Linked DNA regions of Homo sapiens: regions 1, 2, 3 and 5 are each linked to region 4. Evidence: promoter capture Hi-C in human tissues and cell types (Jung and others, 2019). All regions are on one chromosome and are shown on one strand. The core of a region is centred on a gene start or on the middle of the fragment in contact, and the rest is flanking DNA. Distances in the headings are between cores, read along the strand shown. Region 1 overlaps IP6K1 (inositol hexakisphosphate kinase 1). Region 2 holds the start of BSN (bassoon presynaptic cytomatrix protein). Region 3 holds the start of MST1 (macrophage stimulating 1). Region 4 holds the start of DALRD3 (DALR anticodon binding domain containing 3). Region 5 overlaps IP6K1 (inositol hexakisphosphate kinase 1).

Region 1 (2,700 bases), core at 24-2,523, 710 kb after region 4:
AACATTCCCAAATAGGAATCTTTAGAAAAAGCTGGATTTACATTTCTTTTCTTTTTTTTTAGGATGCAGTCTTGCTCCTTTGCCCAGGCTGGAGTGCAGTAGCACAATTTCAGCTCACTGCAACCTCTGCCTCCCAGGTTCAAGTGATCCTCCTGCCTTAGCCTCCCAAGTAGCTGGAACTATAGGCGCATGCCACCATGCCCGACTAATTTTTTGTATTTTTTTTTTTGAGATGGAGTTTCACTCTTGTTGCCTAGGCTGGAGTGCAATGGCGCAATCTTGGCTCATCGCAACCTCCGCCTCTTGAGTTCAAATGATTCTCCTGTCTCAGCCTCCCGAGCAGCTAGGATTACAGGCATGCACCACTACACCTGGCTAATTTTGTGTACAGACGGGGTTTCTCCATGTTGGTCAGGCTGGTCTCAAACTCCCAACCTCAGGTGATCTGCCGGCCTCGGCCTCCCAAAGTGCTGGGATTACAGGAATGAGCCTGGATTTATATTTCTGTCTTGCCATTTGTCACTCAATTTGAAACCAGTGAATGAGAGAGAGAGATCTCGTTCACTGGTTTCAAATTTATATATATAAATATATTTATATATAAAATATAAATTTATCCCTTAATAGTTCTATAACCTTCTGCTCAAAACGATCTATGGTCCTAACTCCCTGGCATTTACATACATGTCTTCATTCCAATATATCCTATTTGCAACAATCTTATCTTTGAACTTTTGTGTAAAGGTACAGACTTATCATATGTCTGCCAAAGTCACTGGGTTTCACAGCCCAGCCCTCAAATCCATCTCTGGGTGCTACAGAGCAATCGCATCTTAGCAGATAGACACTCAGCATCACTGTGATGATGAACATTTCATTCTTTTGAAAGTAACTTTTAAATTTGGCCTGAATCAATTCTGTTGCCTGCTATTACCTATAAACATGTGATGGTAAAATATGGAGGAGGCTGCAGAAATATCTCAACACCCTGGAAGCATGGGCTCTGGAATCCTGCCTTGACCACTCACTACCTCTAGGCACAACACTTAATCCCCCTGTGCTTCCACTTCCTCATCTATAACATGGGAATGATGAGAGTTCCTTCCTCAAAAGATTGCTGTGAAAATTAACTACGTACAAAAGGTTCAGCACACTTTCCCTCAGTTTCTTAGAATAATCCAGTTGTTATTTGTCTACTACTTCAAAACACTAACAATTGTAAGAATTCCCATTCTAGGCTGGGCGTGGTGGCGCACGCCTGTAATCCCAGCTACTGGGGTGGCTAAGGCATGAAAATCTCTTGAACCCGGGAGGCGGAGGTTGCAGTGAGCCGAGATCGCACCGCTGCACTTTGGCCTGGGTAACAGAGTGAGACTCTGTCTCAAAAAAAAAAAAAAAAAAGGAATTCCTATGCCATAATACTTTTTTATCTTTTCTGGAGATGAGACAGGGTCTTGCTGTGTTGCCCAGGCTAGAAGCTAGAATGTAGTGGTGCAATCATGGCCCACTGCAGTCTCGACTTCCTGGGCTCAAGCAATCCTCCCACCTCAGAGCTGGGACTACTACAAGCACACACCACCACATCCAACTAATTTTTTTATTTTTTGTAGAGATGAAGTCTCACTATGTTGCTCAGGCTGGTTTCAAACACCTGGTCTCAAGTGATCCTCCTGCCTCAGCCTCCCAAAGTGCTGGGATTACAGGTGTGACCCACCACGCCCAGCTATCTTTAACATTTTAAATCTATTTTATGGTGTTTATCATCAGATAAAAATCTCACCAAAGTCAAATATATCACCTTTAAACTATTAATCCCTTGGGAGGGGAAAACTACACACATGCACACAAGCGCATATGGGCACATACGCAGATCTGTGATTGTGGACATGATCAATATAGTACCACTAGCCACACTAGCCACATGTGATGATTTAAATTTTAATTAATAAAATAAAATTTAAATTAACTGCCTTAGTCACAGTAGCCACATTTTAGCCACTCAGTGTGGCCAGTGGCTACCATACTGAAAAGCACACAGAATTACAGACAGTTCTATCAGACAACACTGTTCTAGACTGCCAAGTTTTAAGCTTCGGCCTTACCAAATCCAAAAGGCAGGAAAAAAACATGTTGATGAAAGTAAACGAAGGAAGAGGAGTCCATGAAAAAGGGAGATTAAACCGAAGAGGGACCCTAGACAAAGACCTCAGCCATAGGCAGAATGGTGCCCCAACACACGACCTATGGACCCAGTAGACACTCCTGAAGGAGGGGCAACGAGGATACTGTAGAGCTTTCGGTCCTTGGACTCGGAGCGCATGCGGCTCAGCTGCTGCTTGTGACAACGCAGGCTCCAGGGGTTGTGGCTGATCTTCTCAGAACTCAAGCCACTGTTGCCATCTAGCATCTGGAAAGGGACCTCTGAGTGGCTGTGCAGCTCCACCTTCGGACTCTTTGCCTCCTGTGAGCTAAGAAGGAAGAACATACACATCACTAAGAAACTCAGGCAAGTCATCCTCTGGGGTCCCGCTGCACAGGGCACAGATCTGTCCACAATGACAGACCCACAGACCCTGCTAATGGGTTGCATTAAGGTCCCATGAGCCAATAAAAATGAGTAAATGTTATGAGTAGTGTTCTTCCTGTGTCTCTTAAAACTATCTTATGTCTCTTAAAACTATCTGAAAAATAACATTTTTG
Region 2 (2,700 bases), core at 168-2,667, 540 kb after region 4:
ATCGGGGCTGAGGTGCAGACTCTTTTGGAGCCTAAATGTGCACATGTAGTCACCACTCACGAAGCTGTATCAAACATCCTGCAGCACAGGAGGAAACACAGCAAGGACCATCATCTGCAGGAAGAGAGGCTCTCTTCATCCTAGGTCATCCCAGAGGGGCCAGGCAGTTTAGCGTGAAAACGGGAGGTATGAAGTCAGGAGAAAATATCAGGAAGTGGGGGCTCTGCATTTCCTCTTTCTCTTACTTGCTCCATCCCAGAGGTCGGGAGGAGCAGCTCGGAGTGCACAGGGGAAGGCCCAGGGAGGGTCCTGGCCCCTCCTCACAAGAACTGACACAGCCACCGGTCTGTCCAGCAGGCTGGCTATCAGCATTCACTGGGATCCCTGGATTATTCTAGGTTCAGTTAGAACTGCTAACACCCTATGTGATATATTTCGCAACATTAGGAGAATTGAATGGGTTTGTAAAATGGGTTCAAGTTACTCACGCCTTTCTACACAGTCATGATTTATGACGTCAGAGATGAACTGGAATATAGGCTCCTAGGAAATATTCTCCCACAGGAAAGTACAGGCTTGTGTGAGAAGCCACCACGGCAGACAATCCTGAGTAGCGGGCAGAAACCGGCTGTAAATGTGAGGGAGCGGGGAAGTAATTTGGAAAGCTCTCAGGGTAATGCAGAGGCAACCTGCGGCCCCGCATCGAGACAGCTCCAGGCCTGAGAACCATCAAGTCCTCTTTTCCATCCCCAAGGTCACTCTCCCAGGGCTGACTGAGGTGGCCTCCCAGCTGGCTTCACACAGCCCTGTCACACCTTCCATCTGTGCCCGGGGCGCTTCCTGAGACTCCCAGTTCCTCAGTGTGAATCCCAGATGGTTCCCATCGCCATCTGGATAAAGGCTCCACTCCCCAGCTGGCCTTAAAGACCCTCACAATCCGGCCCGACCACCCAGCACCCTCCCTCTCCTTCCCTCTACGACCTTGCGTCTCTGAATACACTTGTTCCTCTGCCTTCCCAACTCCTATGCATACTTTTGAGGCCATTCTCGGGTAGCCCCTCTCCTCTCCGAGGCCTGTCCTTATGACGCCTGCCCGCTGTGGCACTCCGGTTACCCGGAGGAGAGTTGCTACTCTCGAGTTCACCGAGGCGGAAAGCCCCTCTGACTCCAAAGCAGGGCTCAGCGCGACGTCCCAGAGGCCGCTTCTAGTGGCAGGTGCCCCTCCTCACAGGGCCCTCGCAGCCCCGCCGGCCCCCGCCCGGCTCCTTCTCAGCATGATACAACCGCGTCGGCCCTGGACAGCGCATGCGCGGGCGCCGGCGGCTGTTTCCCAGCGACCCCGAGGCTGGCGGGAGCGCGCACAGGGGAAGGGGGGCGTGTGCAGGGAAGGGGGCGCGAGACGCGCATGCGCAGCGGCAGGCGGCGGCGCGAGCCGAGCTGGGAGATGGCGGCGGCAGCGGCGGCGCCGAGAGTGTGAGCACCGCCCGGGAGCCGCCGGCCCGGGCGCAGCGCGACCCCGACCCCGCCCGCCCGCCTGCCCGCCATGGGCAACGAGGTCAGCCTGGAGGGCGGCGCTGGCGACGGGCCGCTGCCGCCCGGCGGCGCCGGCCCCGGCCCGGGCCCCGGCCCCGGCCCCGGCGCAGGAAAGCCGCCTTCAGCACCGGCCGGTGGCGGACAGCTCCCCGCGGCGGGAGCAGCGCGGTCGACCGCGGTACCACCGGTCCCTGGCCCCGGCCCCGGCCCCGGTCCCGGCCCTGGCCCGGGCAGGTAAGCGCGTGTCTCGGCGCCCGGGGGGCGGTGAGCTGCAGCCTGAGGCCGGGACCCGGGCCCAGGATCCCGCGATCTAGTGTGGACAGCGAGGTTCGACGTCCGGCCGCACTCTGAACCCTGCCGGATTGGCGTGAACTGGGTGGTCGCGGGAAGCGGCCCTTCCTTTCCAGCTGCCCCGCCTTGGCGTGGCAGGATGACGAGCGCAGGGTCAGTCGGGGCCTGCAGACCGTGACTCCGTCACGAACCCCAAATTCGCTTCTCCCCAACGCTCGGGCCTGACTGCTCAGGAGGGGCTTATGTAACCTTAACCTGGTCCCTCCGCACAGGAGAGCAATGGGATGGAAAACGTCCTCCCTGTCTGCTGGTGTCTGCATGTGTCCATTGTGCTGGGCCGAGAAAACAGCACAATGGGAGTGGCTGTCAGGGAAGATAAGTGTCACTGCGAGGAACAGAGAGATGAAAATAGTTGAACCATGAACTTGGTCTTGGGCTTTCCTTGGGCATTTAGTGGCTGTAATCACCTTTGGGGGAAAGGAAAATTGCCCACTGGACACCAAGAGGTGCTTATTTAGGCCCAACAATACTAATAGGATCATGTGCTTTCACCAAGGTTTAGGGAAACATTTTGGGGTGAAGCAAAAATGCTATTGAGTCATCCAGCACCAGATATGTTCTCGTTACCTTATGATTTAGATCAAACCAGTGGAAAAGCTGAAACCCACACAGAATGCTTTAAACAGAACATATCTGATTAAATACTGTGAAACCAGTTTGTTTTAAATGTATGCCAACCCAGGTCCTGCAAAAACAGTCAAGTGGCAATGAAGGCTGTAAGGGAATGCCAATATATAATAAGTCAGTAGACTGAAAACTCAGGAAAACTACTAAGAGATGACACGATAAAATGGAAGGCATTATCTTTGCACCAAA
Region 3 (2,700 bases), core at 176-2,675, 670 kb after region 4:
CTGCACAGATACTTGTGAAAAAAATTTCCCCTGGGAAGCAGGCCCAGACTTGGTAGTTATCACCGGTGCCTCTGTTTAGTGGCCCAGGCACCGGGCTCAGATCTAACACATACGCTCTGTGAGAGCAGTGGGTGATGAAGCTTGCCCCACCTCATCTCTCAAATGAGAATGCTAAGGCTCAGAGCCATCACATTACCCAGCCAGGGGCCCTGGCTAGGCATTCAGACTCCAAATCTGGGCTCTCACCTGCACAAAGGCATATGCTAGGTTAGAGGGGTAGATCAGGCTCAGGAGGGGTCACTGCCTGCTGTGTGCGTGCATCTGTGTGGTCCTGACACTGCTTCAGTGCTAGAGCAGACGTGCTAATAGAGGCCTAAGTGGGCAATGTCTATGTGTTCCTAGGGCTTCCCAGCTGTGCTCAAGAGGGCAAGGTCACTGCCCCATGCCCACTGAGCCTCTGGCTCCCCGACTTTTTTCTCATCCTAGAATAGGAGAATGGGGCCAACCCCCTCCTGAAGGCAGATGGGGATCAGGGTTGGGGGCACTTACCAGGGACCCCTAAGCATTGAGTCAGAAGCAGCAGGAGTGGGAGCCACCCCATCCTTCTGGCTGGAGGCTGCACTGTGACCCACCACAGCCCCATCCGGGAAGTTGTGAAACCTGTCCCTACGGGATTGGGTGGCTCTGGCTCCACACGTCAGCTCAGGGCCTGCTGGACCCTGACCTGAGACCTGGTGACAGGAGCCATGAGGGGCCAGGCCTCAGGTCCCATAGGTCAGTTGCAAGGGCCTAGTACAGCTTAGTGGACAGGTGTTAGGAAGGTTTGGTGGGGACACTTGAGGTGCCCTGGGGTTGGGGTGAAACCCCTCTGCAGCCTAGTCAGCCCAAGGGCATTGTGAAAGTGAGAGCTGCCAGAGGTCTGGGCTCCAGCCCCTGGGTGACATTAAACTTTTCTGAATTTCGGTTTTTCCCTGTAAATTGGGGAAAATTACTTGCCCCAGCTTCAACACTGCCTCCCCTCCACCCTTTTGCTGCTGCCTTATCAGGCCCCAGCTGTAGGCAGGTCAGCCCACACCCGGCGGCAGAGCCCAGAGAGGCTCGCTCATCTCAGCCGCCAGAAGTGTCATCCCAGGGAAGGTGAGCGAGGCTGTCCACTAGGACTAAATAGGGGTGGAGGTAACAGGTAGCAGGGACTCTGGCAGGAACGGCCTTTCAGACGTTTTAAGGACCGTCTGAGCGGGGCCTCTAAGTATGGGTAGGAGACAGGCGGCCTAGGGATTCCGGTTAGCATGTCGCGTTCTGCCGCAGCAGGGCTGGGAGCATCCCCAGAGCAGGCGGAGGTCGGAGGTGGTGAGGCCTTTCGGCGAAGCTGAGGCCTGGAACAACCCGGTGGGAAGCCATGGAGGGGGTCCCCTAGCGGAGGCTGGGCGCGGGCCAGTGCGCGTGCGCGGCTGGAGGCTCAGCGCGCAAGCGTGCGCGTGATTTGGCCCTGAACGGACGCCGTAGCCAAGAGGTTGGGCGGATGTTGTGAGCCGGGTCGCTGCGGCCGAGGCTCCGGGTGAGTGAGGGGCGGCAGGGCTCTGAGCCTGGCGGGTTCCGGCTATTCCCTTCGCGGTCCGGGCTAGTCCAGTGCGAGGGCACCTGCAGCGCAGGGATCTGGGTGCGAAACTCCGAGCGGAAGCTGGTCTGGCAGGTCCTGTGGAGCTTGGGGCCAGGCGGGGGCGACTTGGGGGAGCCATGCGCCGCCCTCGCCGTCCTTGGGCTCCCAGACGGAGTAGGTTCAGTTCTGAGTCCGGATACCCCGGCGGGGTTGGACGGGATAGCCGTGACAGGGAGTCCCCGGGCGGGGACAAGGTCCGCCTCTCACCTGGGTCCTCAGCAACTGACTCCCGGAGCCCACTCCGGGTGTCTGGAAGGTCTGCTCATCAAATGAATGACTGAGTTTAATCAGATCTTCAACTACTCTGGTAGTGAAGGGGCACCGATCATGGACGCCCACCGAGGGCCCGAGGTCGGGAAAATCACCTTCCCGAGGAGCAGGCGTGGTGCAGACCCACAAGGGTTTGTGGCGGGAGTAGAGGGTCTGTTTGGGGTGAGATAAGAGACTGAACTGCAGAGTAGGGAGTGCTGGCTAAGGCAGTGCTGCAGAGCGAAACTCTAGACCTGCGCTGTCTAATAGAACTTTATATGATGGTGGGAACGTTCTACCTTTGTGCTGTCCAACAGAGTAACCATTAGCCACATGTGGTCATTGAACTCTTGAAATGTGGCTAAGGCAACTGAGAAATCGAATTGTTAATTTTTAAAACTTTAAATTTAAGTAACCTCATGTGGATGACGGCTGCTGTGTTGGACAGCACCGCTACACATCAGTGAGGCCAGCACCAGGGACTCAGTGCAGGTTCTGGAGCAGCTGCAGCAGCAACATGATGTGAGGGATAGATGCACTAGGAGGACCAATGGAGTTTGCCATGAGGGCTGGGCAAGGGTGGTGCTTGGATGAGGTGGGAGGCCACATGTGTGAGTGGGAATGGTGAAACTATCAGGACCATGGATAAAAGAAGGGAGGAACCCAGGGCTGAGGAAAGAGGCTCCAGCCTTGTGGGGAGTAAGTGGGACTTATGGCTAGAGATGACCAGACCAGTGGTGGTCTGCACTTGGGGGAATGTGTAGGATTGTCGCTTCTGGTTGTGAGCTGGA
Region 4 (2,700 bases), core at 98-2,597:
TGAGTGGAGCCTTGTCAACCAACTTCTGCCAAAGCAGGTCCAACTTCTGTTGCTGGAACTCCTCCTCACAGCTAACAACATGTACAACCAGGCAGCCGCCTGTACCAGTATCTGAGGCCCCAGCCTAAGGGAGGACAATCATAACTGTGGAAGTACAGTATACTTGGTTTGGGAGAACCTACAGGGCTGGGAGTCACTAACCAGGCCTGGGTGGCTGTCCTCGGGCCAATGCCATAGAGCCTCTTGCAGCTCAGCCAGCACAGAGAGGAGATCCTCAGTCACTGAAAAGAGAACAGACAGGTGCTGAGACTGACAAGAAGCAGAGATGTGCCCCTAACCCCCTCCTGCCTTTTCTGGCCCTGCTAGGCTTCAGGTCCTACCCAGACAGTTGTCCAGGTTGGGGTCATAGCCAGCTGTGCGGCCCTGTTCTTCCACCAGCTCCTTCAGACACAGTCTGCCTAGGATGCCAGGGGACAGTGTCCTCCCGTCATTAGCAGAGGTAAGTTCTTCAAGGGCGTGGCTCCTCAGGGTGTGGGAGGAAGCTCTCTCCGAGGCAGCGGGCCAGTCCACCCGCAGTTGCTGCAGGAAGGTCAGCATGTGCGGATCCCGCACAGCTGGCACTAGGCGCACGCACACCCTGCGAAGGGAGGGCGGCCGCCTCAGTCTGAGCACCTGGTCCAGCTCGCCACGACTTCCCACCTCCAGCCGCAGTCCCCACGGGCGGCGCCGCTCGCTTTCTAGGTACCCGGCAGTCCCACTTTCTCCATTCCGGCCCCGCGGCCCCGCTCACCCGTGAGCGCGCAGGGCTCGCGCCAGGTGATCGGCCACGAGCACCGTACGCAGCTGGCTCAAGCGGAGTGCGCAGGGGGAGCTGCGCAGTGCTGGGCAGTGTAGTAAGACGCGCTGGCCCAGCGAGGCAGGCGAGGCGGGCGTGGCATAGGCGGCCACGGCGCTGAGGACGCGCTCGAAGACGGCGGACCGCTGCAGTTGGAGAGACAGACCCGCGGGGGTCGGCGCGCAGCGCAGCACCGGGGCCACACCGGGGCCCTGCAGGCAGGCGAGGGCATGGAGCAAATGCTCCGGAACCTGCGGGAGAACGGGCGTGTAAAAGAGCCACGGCACGGGGCCCATCTCCCGGCCGCACGGCCCCGCCCGGCTCACGCCCACCTGGCCGTCATCGAAGCGCGCCTGCAGCGCGCGGTGCGGTGCCAGAAAGTCTCGGGAACGCAGGTGGCGGGTGCGCGTCTCCTTGATCCACACCGGACCGCCTGGCCCCAGGGCCGCGTTGAGGGCCCCCAGCGTCTCCCCGACCCCAAGGCGCCTGGTCGCCATGGTGACCGGAAGGAGTAAGCGGAACCGGAAAAAAATTTAGGGAGGTGGAACTTCCGGAAAGGACCGACTAGCTGGGGCGGGGATGCGGCGGTGGTCCCCGTAAGTGGACAGGTGCGCCAGTGGTAGCCCTGTCGGCTGCTTTCGACCTACCGCCCCCAGCGCCCCTTCCGCGTGGTCCACCTGCACAGCCGGGCCCCGGATCTGAAATCTCGGGGCCCTCCCTGGGCCTAGGGTTCTTTCGCTGTGACCCAGGCCTTAACCAGGAAAAGGATCCTCGCGACCCGGTGGGCGCTTAGACCGGGTACCGTCTCTTCTCATCGAAGTCTCACATGTTTGTTTTAATAACATTTCATTTCTCCCATTTTACACATGATGAATATTCGTCACTGGAATAAGGCAGTATAACATTAAGGCCACTTTCACGACCTACTTAAAATATCTCGTTTTAAAAAGAATAGTGTTCCGCGGTTTCAGGTTATTTGCAAGCATTTTCTCGTTTGAGATATGGGTGTTTTTTTGTTTGTTTGAGACGGAGTCTTGCTCTTGTCTCCCAGGCTGGAGTGCAGTGGCACGATCTCGGCTCACTGCAGCCTCCACCTCCCGGATTCACAGGATTCTCCTCCTCAGCCTCCCGAGTAGCTGGGATTACGGGCGCCCGCCACCACGCCCGGCTAATTTTTGTATTTTTAGTAGAGACGGGGTTTCGCCATGTTGGCCAGGCTGGTCTCGAACTCCTGACCTCGTGACCTGCCCGCCTCGGCCTCCGAAAGTGCTGGGATTACAGGCATCAGCCACTGCACCCAGCCCGGGTGGTCTTTATGCCCAATAAATAAGCACTCTGATACAGTTGGCGGTTTTCTTCTCTTGATACCTGAGAAATCACAACCATCATGATGGCTTCCAGAATTACCAGACTTTTTTTTTTTTTTTTTGAGACGGAGTTTCGCTCCTGTTGCCCAGGCTGGAGTACAGTGGTGTGATCTTGGCTCACCGCAACCTCCCCCTCCCGGGTTCAAGTGATTATCCTGCCTCAGTCTCCCAAGTAGCTGGGATTACAGGCACGCGCCACCACGCCCGGCTACTTTTGTATTTTTAATAGAGACGGGGTTTCTCCATGTTTGTCAAGCCTCGAACTCCCGACCTCAGGTGATCCGCCTGCCTCGGCCTCCCAAAGTGCTGGGATTACAGGCGTGAGCCACCGCGCCCGGCTCAGAATGACCAGCTTTTAATGTGACTCCTTTAACCTGGTGTGCTTTAACAACGATCCTTAAAGCTTCCTGTTTTAGGCAACAGCCATTTACGGGCCAACCAAATAATGCGACCATAATAGAAAATAGGCCTCAGTTGGAGTATCTTGCTCCTCTACCA
Region 5 (2,700 bases), core at 196-2,695, 750 kb after region 4:
TGGCTCATACCAGTAGTCTCGGCTACTTGGAAGGCTGAGGCAGGCAGGCAGTCACTCAAGCCCAGGAGTTTGAGGCTGCAGTGAGCTACATTCATATCACTCATTCCAGCCTGGGTGACAGGATGAGACCCTATCTCTTAAAAAATAATAATAATTGGCCAGGCGCGGTGGCTCACGCCTGTAATCCCAACACTTTGGGAGGCCGAGGTGGGCAGATCACCTGAGGTCAGGGGTTCAAGACAAGCCTGGCTAACATGGTGAAACCCCATCTCTACTAAAAATACAAAAAAGTAGCCAGTTGTGGTGGCACGTGCCTGTAATCCCAGGTACTCGGGGGGCTAAAACAGGAGAATCACTTGAACCGGGAGGCGGAAACTGTGGTGAGCAGAGATCACGCCACTGCACTCCAGGCTAGGTGACAGAGTGAGACTCCATCTCAAAAAATAATAATAATAATAACAACAACTTAAAAAAATAAAATTAGTCTGGGTACAGTGGCTCATACCTGTAATCTCAACACTTTGGGAGGCTGATGCAGGTGGATCACTTAAGCCCAAGAGTTTGAGACCACCCTGAGCAATATAGTGAGATCCCATCTCTATTCTAAAAAACCGATTAATTAATTTAAAAAGAGTGAAAACATCACCCACAGAATAGCAGAAAATATCTGCAGATCATACATCTGATAAAGGATTAATACATGGAACATATAAAGTACTTGTATAACTCGACAACAACAAAAATAACCCAATTCATAAATGGGCAAAGGCCTTAGACATTTCTCTGAAGATTTACAAATGGCCAAAAAATATGCAAAAAGATGCTCAACTTCATTAGTCATTAGGGAAATGCAAATCAAAGCCACAATGAGAAACTACTTCACATCCAAGTTATAAAAAAAAAAAAAAAATAGAAAATAAGTGTTGGCAAGGATATGAAGAAATTGTAACACTTGTGCACTGCTGGTGAGAATGTAAAGAAGACAGTATGGCAATTCCTCAAAAAGTTAAACATAGAATTACCATATGATTCAACAATTCCACTTTTAGGTCTATACCCAAAAGAACTGAAAGGAGGAATCCAAAACAGATATTTATACACCAATGTTCACAGCATTATTCACAATAACCAAATGGTGTCTACGACCCATGTCCATCAACAGATAAATGGATAAAGATATGCGGTATATACATACAGTGAAATATTATTCAGCCTTAAAAAGGAATGAAATTCTGATGCATGTCACAACATGGATGAATCTTGAAAACATTTTGCTAAGTGAAATAAGCCAGGCACAAAAGGGAAAAAATTATATAATTATAATTCCACTTACATAAAATAAAACAGGGCTGGGCACAGTTGCTTAAGCCTGTAATTCCAGCATTTTGGGAGGCTGAGGCAGGTGGATCACTTGAGGTCAGGAGTTCGAGATCAACCTGGCCAACATGGTGAAACCCCATCTTTACCAAAAATACAAAAATTAGCCGGCCGTGGTGGCGGGCACCTGTAATCCCAGCTACTTGAGAGGCTGAGGCAGGAGAATCACTTAAACCTGGGAGGCGGAGGCTGCAGTGAGCCAAGACTGGGCCACTGCACTCCAGCCTCGGTGACAGAGTGAGACTGAGTCTCAAAAATAAAATAAAATAAAATAGGCGAATTCATTGAGACAAAAAGATTATTAAGAACGTACAAGGGGCTGGGGGAGGTGAGAATGGGGTGTTACTATATAATGGGGAGAGTTCCTATTTGGGATGATGAAAGTAGTTCTCAAAACATCATTGTGAATGTATTTAATGCCACTGCATCATACCCTTCAAAATAGTTAAAATTCTACATTTTCTCATGTATATTTACTACAATTTAAAAATTTCATTTACAATAGCATCAAAAAAATCAAATGTCTTGGGTCAAATTTAACAAAACGTGAAAGAATTCTACATTAAAAACAATGAAATAATGTAGCAAGATAGTAAAGAAGGCATAAATCAAGAAATATGCCTCACACAGCACATGGATTAGAAGGCTCAATATAGTTAAGATGTCAATTCTCCCCAAATGAATCTATAAATTCAGTGGAATCTCAACCATAATGGCAGGAGACTTTTTTACAGAAATTGACAAGCTAATTCTAAAATTTATATGGTAATAAAAAGAAACTGTAATATTCAAATAAATCTTGATAAACAATAAAGTTGGGTTATTTACACTGCCTCATGTCAAGACTTCCTATAAAGCTACAGTAGTGGGGTACTGGCATATGGATAAACAAATAGATCAATGGAACAGAACACAGATTTCACAAACAGGCCCATATCTACAGAGTCAATTGTTTTTGGGATTTTTGCCAGCGACAAATCAGGATATAACAGTCAATTGTTTTTCGACAAAAGTACCAAAGCAAACCAATGGGGAGAGAAAATTTTGGTAGTTTTAAACTATGTCAAATTTTTTTACATTCTTCCCTCTAAAAAGTGAAATCCTCCTCTCTCCTTGAGTACAGGCTAGACTTAGGGACTCATTCTAATGAAAAGAATATGGCAGAAGTGACAGTGTATGACTAGGTCATAAGAGGCTTCATGGTTTCTTCCTTACTTTGTCTTAGATCATTTCTGTAGGAGATAACTGCACGCCATGAGGAAACTCAAAGAGCCCTGTGTATAACTTGTTAGCTTTAAAGTAGGGAAAATTTAAAAACAAACA

The links. The method cuts DNA at HindIII sites, captures the fragments that hold promoters and counts their contacts. A contact is called where the count stands out against the background at its distance.
Region 1: a contact is called between a fragment that was not itself captured here and the fragment with the promoter of DALRD3 in region 4, in 1 of the 25 tissues and cell types used here (spleen).
Region 2: the fragment with the promoter of BSN here is called in contact with the fragment with the promoter of DALRD3 in region 4 in 1 of the 25 tissues and cell types used here (dorsolateral prefrontal cortex).
Region 3: a contact is called between the fragment with the promoter of MST1 here and the fragment with the promoter of DALRD3 in region 4, in 1 of the 25 tissues and cell types used here (heart right ventricle).
Region 5: a contact is called between a fragment that was not itself captured here and the fragment with the promoter of DALRD3 in region 4, in 1 of the 25 tissues and cell types used here (pancreas).

What each region holds. Positions count from the first base shown.
Region 1 is chr3:49,730,505-49,733,204 of GRCh38, forward strand. IP6K1 (inositol hexakisphosphate kinase 1) reads right to left here. Exons shown (of 6, transcript NM_153273.4): 4 at 2,287-2,468. Among named protein-coding and RNA genes, the nearest start is that of GMPPB, 7.9 kb to the left of the region's middle. The HindIII fragment of the contact is 4,827 bases long and covers 1-2,700 here.
Region 2 is chr3:49,553,060-49,555,759 of GRCh38, forward strand. BSN (bassoon presynaptic cytomatrix protein) reads left to right here and starts at 1,418. Exons shown (of 12, transcript NM_003458.4): 1 at 1,418-1,767. The coding sequence starts at 1,544. It overlaps BSN-DT (BSN divergent transcript), which reads right to left and starts at 1,307. Exons shown (of 3, transcript NR_038866.1): 1 at 982-1,307; 2 at 489-628. RefSeq lists silencers at 1,226-1,525, 1,596-1,805. The HindIII fragment of the contact is 7,009 bases long and covers 1-2,700 here.
Region 3 is chr3:49,688,049-49,690,748 of GRCh38, forward strand. MST1 (macrophage stimulating 1) reads right to left here and starts at 1,426. Exons shown (of 18, transcript NM_020998.4): 1 at 550-1,426. The coding sequence starts at 643. It overlaps RNF123 (ring finger protein 123), which reads left to right and starts at 1,509. Exons shown (of 39, transcript NM_022064.5): 1 at 1,509-1,558. RefSeq lists an enhancer at 780-1,339. The HindIII fragment of the contact is 11,098 bases long and covers 1-2,700 here.
Region 4 is chr3:49,017,233-49,019,932 of GRCh38, forward strand. DALRD3 (DALR anticodon binding domain containing 3) reads right to left here and starts at 1,348. Exons shown (of 12, transcript NM_001009996.3): 1 at 1,168-1,348; 2 at 791-1,086; 3 at 381-637; 4 at 202-281; 5 at 1-124. The coding sequence starts at 1,332. RefSeq lists an enhancer at 124-895 and a silencer at 344-578. The HindIII fragment of the contact is 18,150 bases long and covers 1-2,700 here.
Region 5 is chr3:49,767,141-49,769,840 of GRCh38, forward strand. The region is part of intron 1 of IP6K1 (inositol hexakisphosphate kinase 1); the gene reads right to left. Among named protein-coding and RNA genes, the nearest start is that of IP6K1, 18 kb to the right of the region's middle. The HindIII fragment of the contact is 9,567 bases long and covers 1-2,700 here.